2 separate regions of the Homo sapiens genome follow, and region 1 is linked to region 2. Evidence: promoter capture Hi-C in 16 types of primary human blood cells and fetal thymus (Javierre and others, 2016). All regions are on one chromosome and are shown on one strand. Each heading gives the region's core, a stretch centred on a gene start or on the middle of the fragment in contact. The rest is flanking DNA. Distances are from core to core; before and after follow the strand shown. Region 1 overlaps FSIP1 (fibrous sheath interacting protein 1). Region 2 holds the start of RASGRP1 (RAS guanyl releasing protein 1).

Region 1 (4,876 bases), core at 1,323-3,822, 1.2 Mb after region 2:
AACTGGGATGGGTTCTGTGTTTTGGAAGCTGAAAACAGGTTGGAAATTGCCATTCAGCCATCAGCCCAAAGTCCTTAAGGTTAATTTTTTGTTTGTTTGTTTGTGTTTTGGAGATAGGGTTTCACACAGTCACAAATGCTGCAGAGCAATGGCATGACTGCAGTCTCAAACTCGTGGACTCAAGCAATCCTCCCACCTCAGCCTCCTGATGCTTGGCTAATTTTTAAATATTTTGTATAGACAAGGTCTTGCTAAGTAGCCCAGGTTGGTCTCGAACTCCTGGCTTCAGGCAATCCTCCTGACTCCACTTCCCAAAGCGCTGGGATTACATGCATGAACCACCCACCCAACCTGAAGCTAACTCTTAAATAAGAGGATAAGAAAAACTGACTAGAAAAGAAAAATATCCATCCTAAGAATTTCTCCCTTTGTTTAAAGACAAAAAATGAAAAGAAAGAAAGTAGGTTTGGGTATATTGATAGGTATGCTGAAATAGGTCTGGCTTTAATAACGTGATCATGCTTAAAATGATTCTCTCTGAATATAGCTTTCAAGTCCCTTGCAGCTCCAGCTTTCACATCATTAAGTCCACTGAATTTCCATGTTAGAACATCAGGACTAATCTAACATTACAAGAAGTGTCTGCAGGGTGTAGAGCAGTCACATGACTCCAGAAATACAATGTGAACTCTATAGGTTTAAGCCAAAAATGTATGCCAGGAGCTTTAAAATTTTTTTAAATGCTTTAAGGCTTTTTAAAGTACTTATTGTAACTAGATGCTGCCACCTACTGGACAATTTACAAGTGCCTGAAACTGTGCTGGCAACAAAAAATTATACAGGAAAAAAAGGCAAAATTTTCCTGTTTTCCTAATAATACTTATAAAAATATCTTATTTAGAAATGTATGGCTATATATGATTGATTAAAATAATTTTTAAATTTTTATACATTTCTAATTAAAACAGTAGCTGAGATCTAATGAGTAATGGGAAATTCATTTCATTGTAGAACAGATGAAAGTAGCTTCGTACCACCTTATGATAGTGCTTATGTTGAAATACCAGGAATATGAGACTTTCAAAAAATCCGTGGCATGAGGTCAAACTGGACTGTTGTGTTTCTAATTATTTCTTTCATACTTGCAGTGAAAATATTCTGCTAATAATACCAAGTTTAAGCTGATTATTCCAAAAGTTTCCTCTTTTAGAATAAGGTAATAGTTATGTAGTCCAAAAAACAAATTAATATAATTAGGTTAATAATGCAGCCTAAAGTAAATGCTAACTACTTTTTTGTTTTTAAGAATTTAAAAAAAACAGATATGTGTGGCAATAAATGACTCCAAAACATATGTCTATGAAGTAAACAGCAAGCAGGAAATTTCATTAAGGAATTTGGCTTTTCTGTAAAAGAACAATCATCAAAAAAAGATTCTAATTAAATCTGAAGAAGCCAGTAATACAATAATGTTACCTCTTCATTTTGGTGAACTGGTCAAGTGTGAACTAATTAAGACAGTCAGTAGCAAGAGTGAAGTGCAACAGACATCTGGTTCACCTAACAGTATCTTGTATTCCCTTTTCCTTTTACGTTGACCCTACTTTTGCATCTTACCTGCTTTGCACACACTGCCAATACATAATAACTAAGAAGTCTGAATCTAAAAATTGAAGCTTTAATAATGTCATCATGTTTAAAACAATGATTCTCTCTTAACATAGCTTTCAAGCCCCTTGCAGCTCCAGCTTTCATATCATTAAGTCCACTTAATTTCCATGTTAGAACATCAGGACTAATCTAACATTATGGGAAGTGTCTACAGGGCCTACAGCAGTCACATAACTCCAGAAATACAATGTGAGCATAGATTTAAGTCAAATATACGGGCCAGGAGCTTTAAAAATTAAACATATTTGACAGTTTTGATTTGGTTTTGAAAAAAGGGCAACTGAAAACAAATGTCTTGCCTTCCAGGACCAAAAGTTCACTGGGTAGTGAACTCTGTGACCGAAAAGCTTAATGTTAAAAGGCCACCATAGATCCACTTACAGAGTGGCCTGTCTTACATTGCTTGCTCCAGAGTCAACCACAAGCAGGTTTGGTCTTTCAGAAAAGCCCTACCCACTAGAAAAATCAGTATTTGACTCCTGGTTTCCAAACTATAGACATTGAGATACTATAATATCCAGAATCTCATTCCTGACACTGTCCATGGATTTTTTTGAGGGGGGGGAATAAGGGGTATAGTCTCATTTCTATGAAGGTATAGAATTACTGATAAACATTGAATGAAATATATTAGTAAGTTGTACTTTTCCAAGCAGACTACGTTCATATACTGGTCTTTAGACATTTAAATAAATAAAAAAGCAGTTCATAAGCTATAGCTTTAGAGGTGCTTTTACAATCTCTTTTTTAAAAAATAATGTAGTCATTGCTAAACTCAGAAAAAAAATAGGTTTGAGAAAACCATGTTATTCCAAAATACTGCCCCAATAAAATATATTACAAAGACACAATAATCAAAATAGAGTGGTATTAACATCAGCACAGACAGAAATTTTAATGGAATAAAATAGAAAATCTGAAAATAAACCCAGTTCCTACACGATAAAGCTAGCATTTCAAATAAGTGGGGAAATGACAGATTATCCAATAAAGGGTCTTGGAATAGCTGGTTAGCAAATTGGGGGAAAAAAACAAAATCAACTCTCTAACTCATATCTAATACCAAAATAAATCTCAAGTGGGTTAATATTTAAATTTTTTCATTAAATTATAACTGATGAAAGGAAAATATATATTTTTTATACAATCTTGAGACATAAAAGGCCTTTTAAAGCAGAGTACCAATGAATGATAACATAAAAGAAATGACTAACTAGAGCAAGAAATGTCACAAAATTAAAAAAAAAGTTAGAAAAATGCTTATGGTGTTTGTGACAAATAATTAATATCCTTAATATTAAAAAAGTCTTTCAAATCAATAAAGAATACCTCACTTTATAAAAGAGACTAAGACATGAGTAGGTAACTCACAACTTAGCTAAACCAAAGAATAAATCTATAACCTCCCTGATAATCAGAGAAATACAAATTATTGTGATTCCACTTTAAATAAACAAAGCTTAAAAATAACTACAAAATCCATCGTTGGCATAGAAAAATAATATTCAGATACAATGTGGGTAAGAGTCTAAATTGATTTCAATAAGTCAATGTGAATAAAAATCTTGTGAAAGTCCAACCCTGGACTAAGTATTTCTCTTCTAGGAATGTATTTGAAAGTATACCCATTTTCTATAGCGGCCCTAACAAATTACCACAAACTTGGTGGCTTCAAACAACAGAAGTTATTCTCTCACAGTTCTGGAGGCCAGAAATCCAGAATCAAGATGTCAGCAGGGCCACGTTCCCTCCAGAGGTTCTAGAGGAATTTCTGTTCCTCCCTCTTCCAGCTTCTGATGGTTGCCAGCAGGCTTGAGGCTGCATCACTCCAATCTCTGCCTCCGTCTTTGCAGCACCTTTTCCTCTTCCTTATCTACCTCTTCTCCCTCCATCTCTTTCTGATAAGGCTACCTATGATGGAATTTAGGGCCCATCTCAATATTCCAGGACTTAATCACATCTGCAAAGACCCTTTTTCCAAATAAGGTAACATTCACAGGCTCTAGGGATTTGACATAGATATCTCTTGGGGGATTGGGGTGGATTTTTTTCAGCCAACCACAGAAGGTAATCATTGCAATAATTGACTAAGGATGTCACTGCAACATGTGTAATTTAAAAAATTGAAAAACTAAGGGAATAATCTAAATGTTCAATAGAAGGGTATTAGTTAAACAAATGATGGCACATCCATCTAATGAATTAATATATAATCATTAAAAATAATGCTGATGCACATTGTTCCAGTTATCTATTGTTGGATTACAAAATCACCCAAATCTAGTGGCATATGGTAAAAATTATTGCAGGCAAGATCTACTGATTGATGCTGAAATTAGTAGGTGAAAGCTGGAGAAGAAACAGGATATTTGCATAGTCTTAAAGCATCTCCCCCAAGATATGTATTAATTGTAAAAGAAAAAAATAGTAATTTTACAGTGCAGAAAACCAGCAGACACCATCTTAACAAAGTGATCAAGGTGAAACATTACCAATAATAATATATAACAGCATTAGGTATACCAAGTGTGATTGACTGAGAAGGGCACATAACTTCCAGAGTATGCTTGCCAAAATTCATAACTTTCATCTAATCATGAGAAAACATCACATAAACCAAAACTGAAGGACATTTTACAAAATAGCTGACCAATACTCTCCCAAAGGGTCAACATCACGACAGACAAGGAAAGACTGAGGAACTATCACAGATTGGAGGAGATTAAGGAGACATGACAACGAAATGTAACATGGGATCTTGGATTGGATACTAGTAAATAAAAAGGACATTAGTGGGAAAACTGGTAAATTTTTAAGAAAGTCTATACTTTAATTAATGGTATTATACCAATGTTGATTTCTGAGTTTTGATCACTATGGTTATGTAAGATTAGGAGAAGCAGGGGGGAAGGGTATATGGAATTCTGTACTACTTATGCAAGTTTTCCATAAATTTAAAATTATTTCAAAATAAAAAGTAAAAAATAAAACTTAATGGCATACAACAAATATGCAGAAAATGTTCAACCTCACTAATCATTCAGGAAATACAAATTAACCACAATGAACTATCATCTCACTCCTGTCAGAATGGCTCTCACCAAAAACACAAAAGATAAATTGTTGGTGAGGATGTGGATTAAAGGAAACCCTTGCAATCTGTTGGTGGGAATGTAAATTACTACAGCCATTATGGAAAAGTGTA
Region 2 (4,439 bases), core at 1,512-4,011:
CATATATAATCAACCTGAGATTTGTACCCAGCACCTCTCTGGCTTTATTCATTTAATAAATATTGACTGTGCCTGGAACTCTGCACATTTCACAACATCAGGATTAGTAGTAGACAATCACAGAGAGGCTGAAAAGGTCAATTCAATTTAAAATGAAAGCAAAATCCTTCAAAAGCATAACTGGTAATGTAAAGGCTGAATCTCAGCCCATATTCCTCTTGCAGGCCCTCAGAACTGTCCTCAGGTCCCTAGAGCTGGACAGACTCTTTATGGTCATTTTCCAAAGCCCCCTTCTACAGTGTGGAGGTCCAGAATCAGAAGAGCAACGTGCCTGGCCACCACTGCAGAGACAGGCTAGAAGCCAGCCCCTTGTGGCCCATGCAGTGCGCCCCAGGTGGGCGCCCTTCCCTTCCTGGAAGCACTAACAACTCTCTACACCTGGGGCTACATAGCCACTGCTGGGATTACTCAGCTTTCTGCCCCAGCTGCTGCCTTTGTCACCATTAAGACCTCCACCAAAGGCAGAGTAGGGGAAAGGTTTTAAAAAAATAAAGTCATTCATTGTAGAAGTCTCCTTCTCTCAGGCCTTCCACAATACTTCTCCCTAGACCTTGGAGAAGAGGCAACTGCAACTAGAGGCTCTATCTACTGACAGAGCTCTTCCTGCTAGGGGTGGAGGGGAGGTGGCTACAGATCCAAGGAAAATTCCATTTTCTTTCTTGGTTGGTGACACTGACCATTCAAGACTCCTAATCCTGCCCTGTTTTCTAATTCTGGTAAAGTTTCCTAGTGTCACCAGTAAGAGAAACCGCTTTGTTTCATAAGTGGATTCTTGAAGGTTGATGCTTTTACCAGAACTAGAAGGGATCAGGGTAAAGTATAGGGTAGTAAAAGGGAAGAAAGGGTGACAAAAGCAATCTGGGAAGTATGGAGCCCAGAGAGACTCAGAGGACTAGGCCATGAGAGAACAGGGAGAAGAGAAAGTACTAAAAGCCAAAGTGCAGCCTCAGAGTTCTAAGAAGATGGGGATTATCTGCACCATAGACTAGGAAACCTGGCTTTCTTGCTGTACAGTCTCTTAACTGGTTGCCTTGTGAAAAATCCTCAAATCGTTCTGCCTTTTCTGGTGAAATGGGAGTAGACAAGGATTTATAAAATGCTCTATTATAGGCAGGTCGAAGGTGTTTTAACAATCCATAGAATGAATGGCCTCTGAGTCTGTAAAGGCATATTTTTTAAAAAAATACAGTAGCCAAATGTTTTCCTGTAAATGAAAAAACCAAAACCCCGAGAGAAACAAATTAACTTGAAGGTGTTTTCCAAGCCTAAAAGTAACCAAAGCCCCATAGGTTTGCTGAAGGAGACCGTCAAAACTCTAAACTGGTTTAGGTGAAATCCTCTCCAGGCATAGGTATCTCAGTGGAGGTCAGTTTCAGGCTGAGCTTTTTATGAAATCCGCCTAGAAAAGTAAGAGATGAAATGGAGCAAGGGAACTGGAACTTCCACAACTTTCTTTGCAGTGGAAGGTGACTCTCTTGACTTCTAGTATGGATTCCTTCCAGTCCCGTCCTCTTCCCCTTACAATACTCAATTTAATGTACTGAACTCCTCCTTCTGAATCTAGTGCAAAGTACAGTGGTGGACCCTCAGGGGATACCTGGATGGGGAGAGGCAGGGCGTGCATACAGGGCCAAGAATCCTTCGTTCCTGGGATTATAAGCACGGGAAGTCCAGCATCGCAAGCTTCCTGCCGCTACTGGGTATGGTGGTGCAAGGCACAGTCCCATCAGTGTCGATGTGAATGGAGTTGTGAAGTGCACAACTTGTCCAGCCCCTACGCCGAGGCCAGGCCTTTGTTCATGCAGTTGCCTAGTTCTGGTCCTTTGGCTACAAACTCAAAGCTGCCTGGCCAAGAGCCCTTTCACTCACTGTCCCTCTTTCTTCAACTTCTGTTATCCAAGACCCTCTATAGAATCATAGTGAGGGGGAGAGGAGTGCAGCTTCCCATACGGAAGGCGATATGTTTCCCTGACCCACGGATCTGGAAACTTCCGTGGGGCAGGGGCAACCGAGGGGTGCCACCTCTGCGGGCTCCCTGCAAGCTCCTCGGCCGTTCTGGGCAGGGCCGGGAGGGGCCACCAGGTGGCGCAGCCGGAGCCCAGCGCCCCAGCAGGTGCGGGCAGCGCGGAAAGTCCGCGAGTGGGAGTCCCGATGCCGGGCGTGGAGATGTGGGGGAGGAAGTCGGCGGGCGGGCGCCGGCTCCGCGAAGAGCTTCGGCCCTAGCAGATCTCACCGGACGAGCTCTGGCCTCGCGGCCGCCCCTCTACCACCCCTCAGCCCCAGCTCCCTCCCCGAAACCCCGGGCGCAGCGCGCCGGGCGTTCTGGACACGTCCGCCCGTCGCGCTGGTGTCCCGGGACTCCGGCCGACCCCGGCCCCCCTCCGCCCTCAACTTCCCTCGGGGTGTTGGGGCGACGGGCAGGGGCCTCTTTCCCAAGAAAGGACACAGGCGCTCCCGAGGGCCACGGCCGCCTCTACTCACCGCGGAGCCTCTCTCGCCTTGCCCAGGGTGCCCATGGCCGCGGCCCGCGCTCCCGGTGCCGGCTCACCTAGCGCGGCCGGGCGCGGCGCATCGCCCCCGCCACCACCGCCGCCGCCTGCCGGCTCTCTCCCCCCCGGGCCTCGTAGCCCCGGCGCCCGCCAGCCCTCGAGCCCGGCGAGCCCGACCGAGGTGCACCGCAGGCACAAACTTTGTGCGAGCGCGCCCCCTCTGCCTCGCGCGCGCGCTCACACCCGCCTGGCAACCACCTGACACGCTGATGCTGGCGGCTGCAGGAAACGTGCGGCGCCCCGCCGCTCTTCCCCGAAACCTGCCCCCTTTCCGCGGGTGCCCCGGCCTGCGCCTCGCGCGGTTCTCTCACCCCTGCCCGCCTTCGACCTCTCTTGGCCAAAGGGTTAAGTCTCAGGGGAGTTGGAGAGGAGCGGGCTCCCGGCTACCACGCCCGCGCCTTGCAGGGCACCTGTGCCCGTCGACCTCCACCTCAGCTCGGGAAACGGGCTGCGCCTAGCGGCTCCCATGGGACCCCCTTTCCCGCAGCCGACCCGCAGCTTCCACGCCTCTTCCTGCGGCCGCTGCTCGGAGCACTGCAGTGAGGACGCCTTCTCCCCTCCAGGGCCTCTCCTGTATATATCAGAGCGCGGAGTCCGGCAGGGGAAAGGAACGGAAAGACAGTTGTGAAGTTGCCTTAACCTGTGCCCTGGGGTCTCTAGGTAGCCGTCTGCAGGACTGGGCCGTAGACATGTGCCCTGTGCCCTGCGCCCTGCACCTTGGACGAGGGCTGCCTGTGTGGAGGTGCGCTCCACAGGCGTGATCCATATCTGGCCCAGACGCGGCCGCCTGGCGTCGGTGGGTGTAGGAGATGTGGGGACAACTTTCATACAACGTCAGTGCGCACAGAAGACCTGGCCAAGAGGGGCGGCCCATCCGCTGCTTGTCCAGGTGATAGTGCTGATAATCTCAATAGCTAATGATTGAGTGCGGTTGTGCTAAGTGCTTTCTATACATTACCTCATTTAATCCACTCTCCCTGATACAAAGAGATCACTGTTGTAAAGATGAGAAAATGAAGGTTTAGAGAATGCTATGCCTTAGATCATACAACTAATAAACAGCAGAGAGACCTCTGACTTGGACTGAGGTCTGTCTGACTCCCTGTAATCACTGCTGGACTGCCCTAATAACACACTCATTATCACGGCCACAGACCATAACTCTAGCCACAGTCATAGTTGTCTTCCTGGCCATAGTGTTCTGGACTTTAAAGCCTTCCTCTGTTTCATTTATATATTTCCTTATATTTATATGCTACCTTGTCCTTAAAACAGAATTCGAGATAGCTTACAAGAGCACATAACCTACAAAAAGAAGTGTGTGAAATGAAAAATGAGGCACACAAGATGGAGCCAAAAATGAACATCATTTGAAATAAATGCATCTCATAGAGTCAAATACCCTTGCTACAGGTGGGACCAAAATTTGTCTCCTGCATTTCTAGCAGTCAAGTTTAAAGAGAGGCCTTGTCTAAAGTTCAATTCCTATCACATGCAAGACCAAAAACAAAATTGCTCAAGAGAAGATCCCCCTTTCTTGATACTGAGACCAGCAAGAAATTTCTCCAGAGAATCCTCATGAACACTGGGTGATATAAAGAACCAAGTCCTCAGTCACAGCCACAGATGCAGAAGGGGCAGGTGAATGTCAGGAGAATATTAAATGATGACACTCTTTCTCACTCACTGGGTCTAAGGCTCAAACATTTTTAGAGTTATCTATTATACACCCTTCCTCATGTAAGCCCTACAACCTAAACAACCAAGTTGGCGGATGTCTGAGGATGGTAAAGATTTGTATCTATATATGAATCTATCTGACTATCTCCC

Evidence for each region. The method cuts DNA at HindIII sites, captures the fragments that hold promoters and counts their contacts. A CHiCAGO score of 5 or more calls a contact.
Region 1: a fragment that was not itself captured here is called in contact with the fragment with the promoter of RASGRP1 in region 2 in 8 of 17 cell types (total CD4 T cells, total CD8 T cells, naive CD8 T cells and 5 more); the score reaches 13.8 in total CD4 T cells.

What each region holds. Positions count from the first base shown.
Region 1 is chr15:39,756,284-39,761,159 of GRCh38, forward strand. The region is part of intron 5 of FSIP1 (fibrous sheath interacting protein 1); the gene reads right to left. Among named protein-coding and RNA genes, the nearest start is that of FSIP1, 24 kb to the right of the region's middle. The HindIII fragment of the contact is 1,112 bases long and covers 2,017-3,128 here.
Region 2 is chr15:38,562,053-38,566,491 of GRCh38, forward strand. RASGRP1 (RAS guanyl releasing protein 1) reads right to left here and starts at 2,762. Exons shown (of 17, transcript NM_005739.4): 1 at 2,542-2,762. The coding sequence starts at 2,576. RefSeq lists enhancers at 154-283, 344-443, 2,826-3,337, 3,179-3,368 and silencers at 2,059-2,258, 2,269-2,488, 2,519-2,758, 2,919-2,968. The HindIII fragment of the contact is 3,108 bases long and covers 1,742-4,439 here.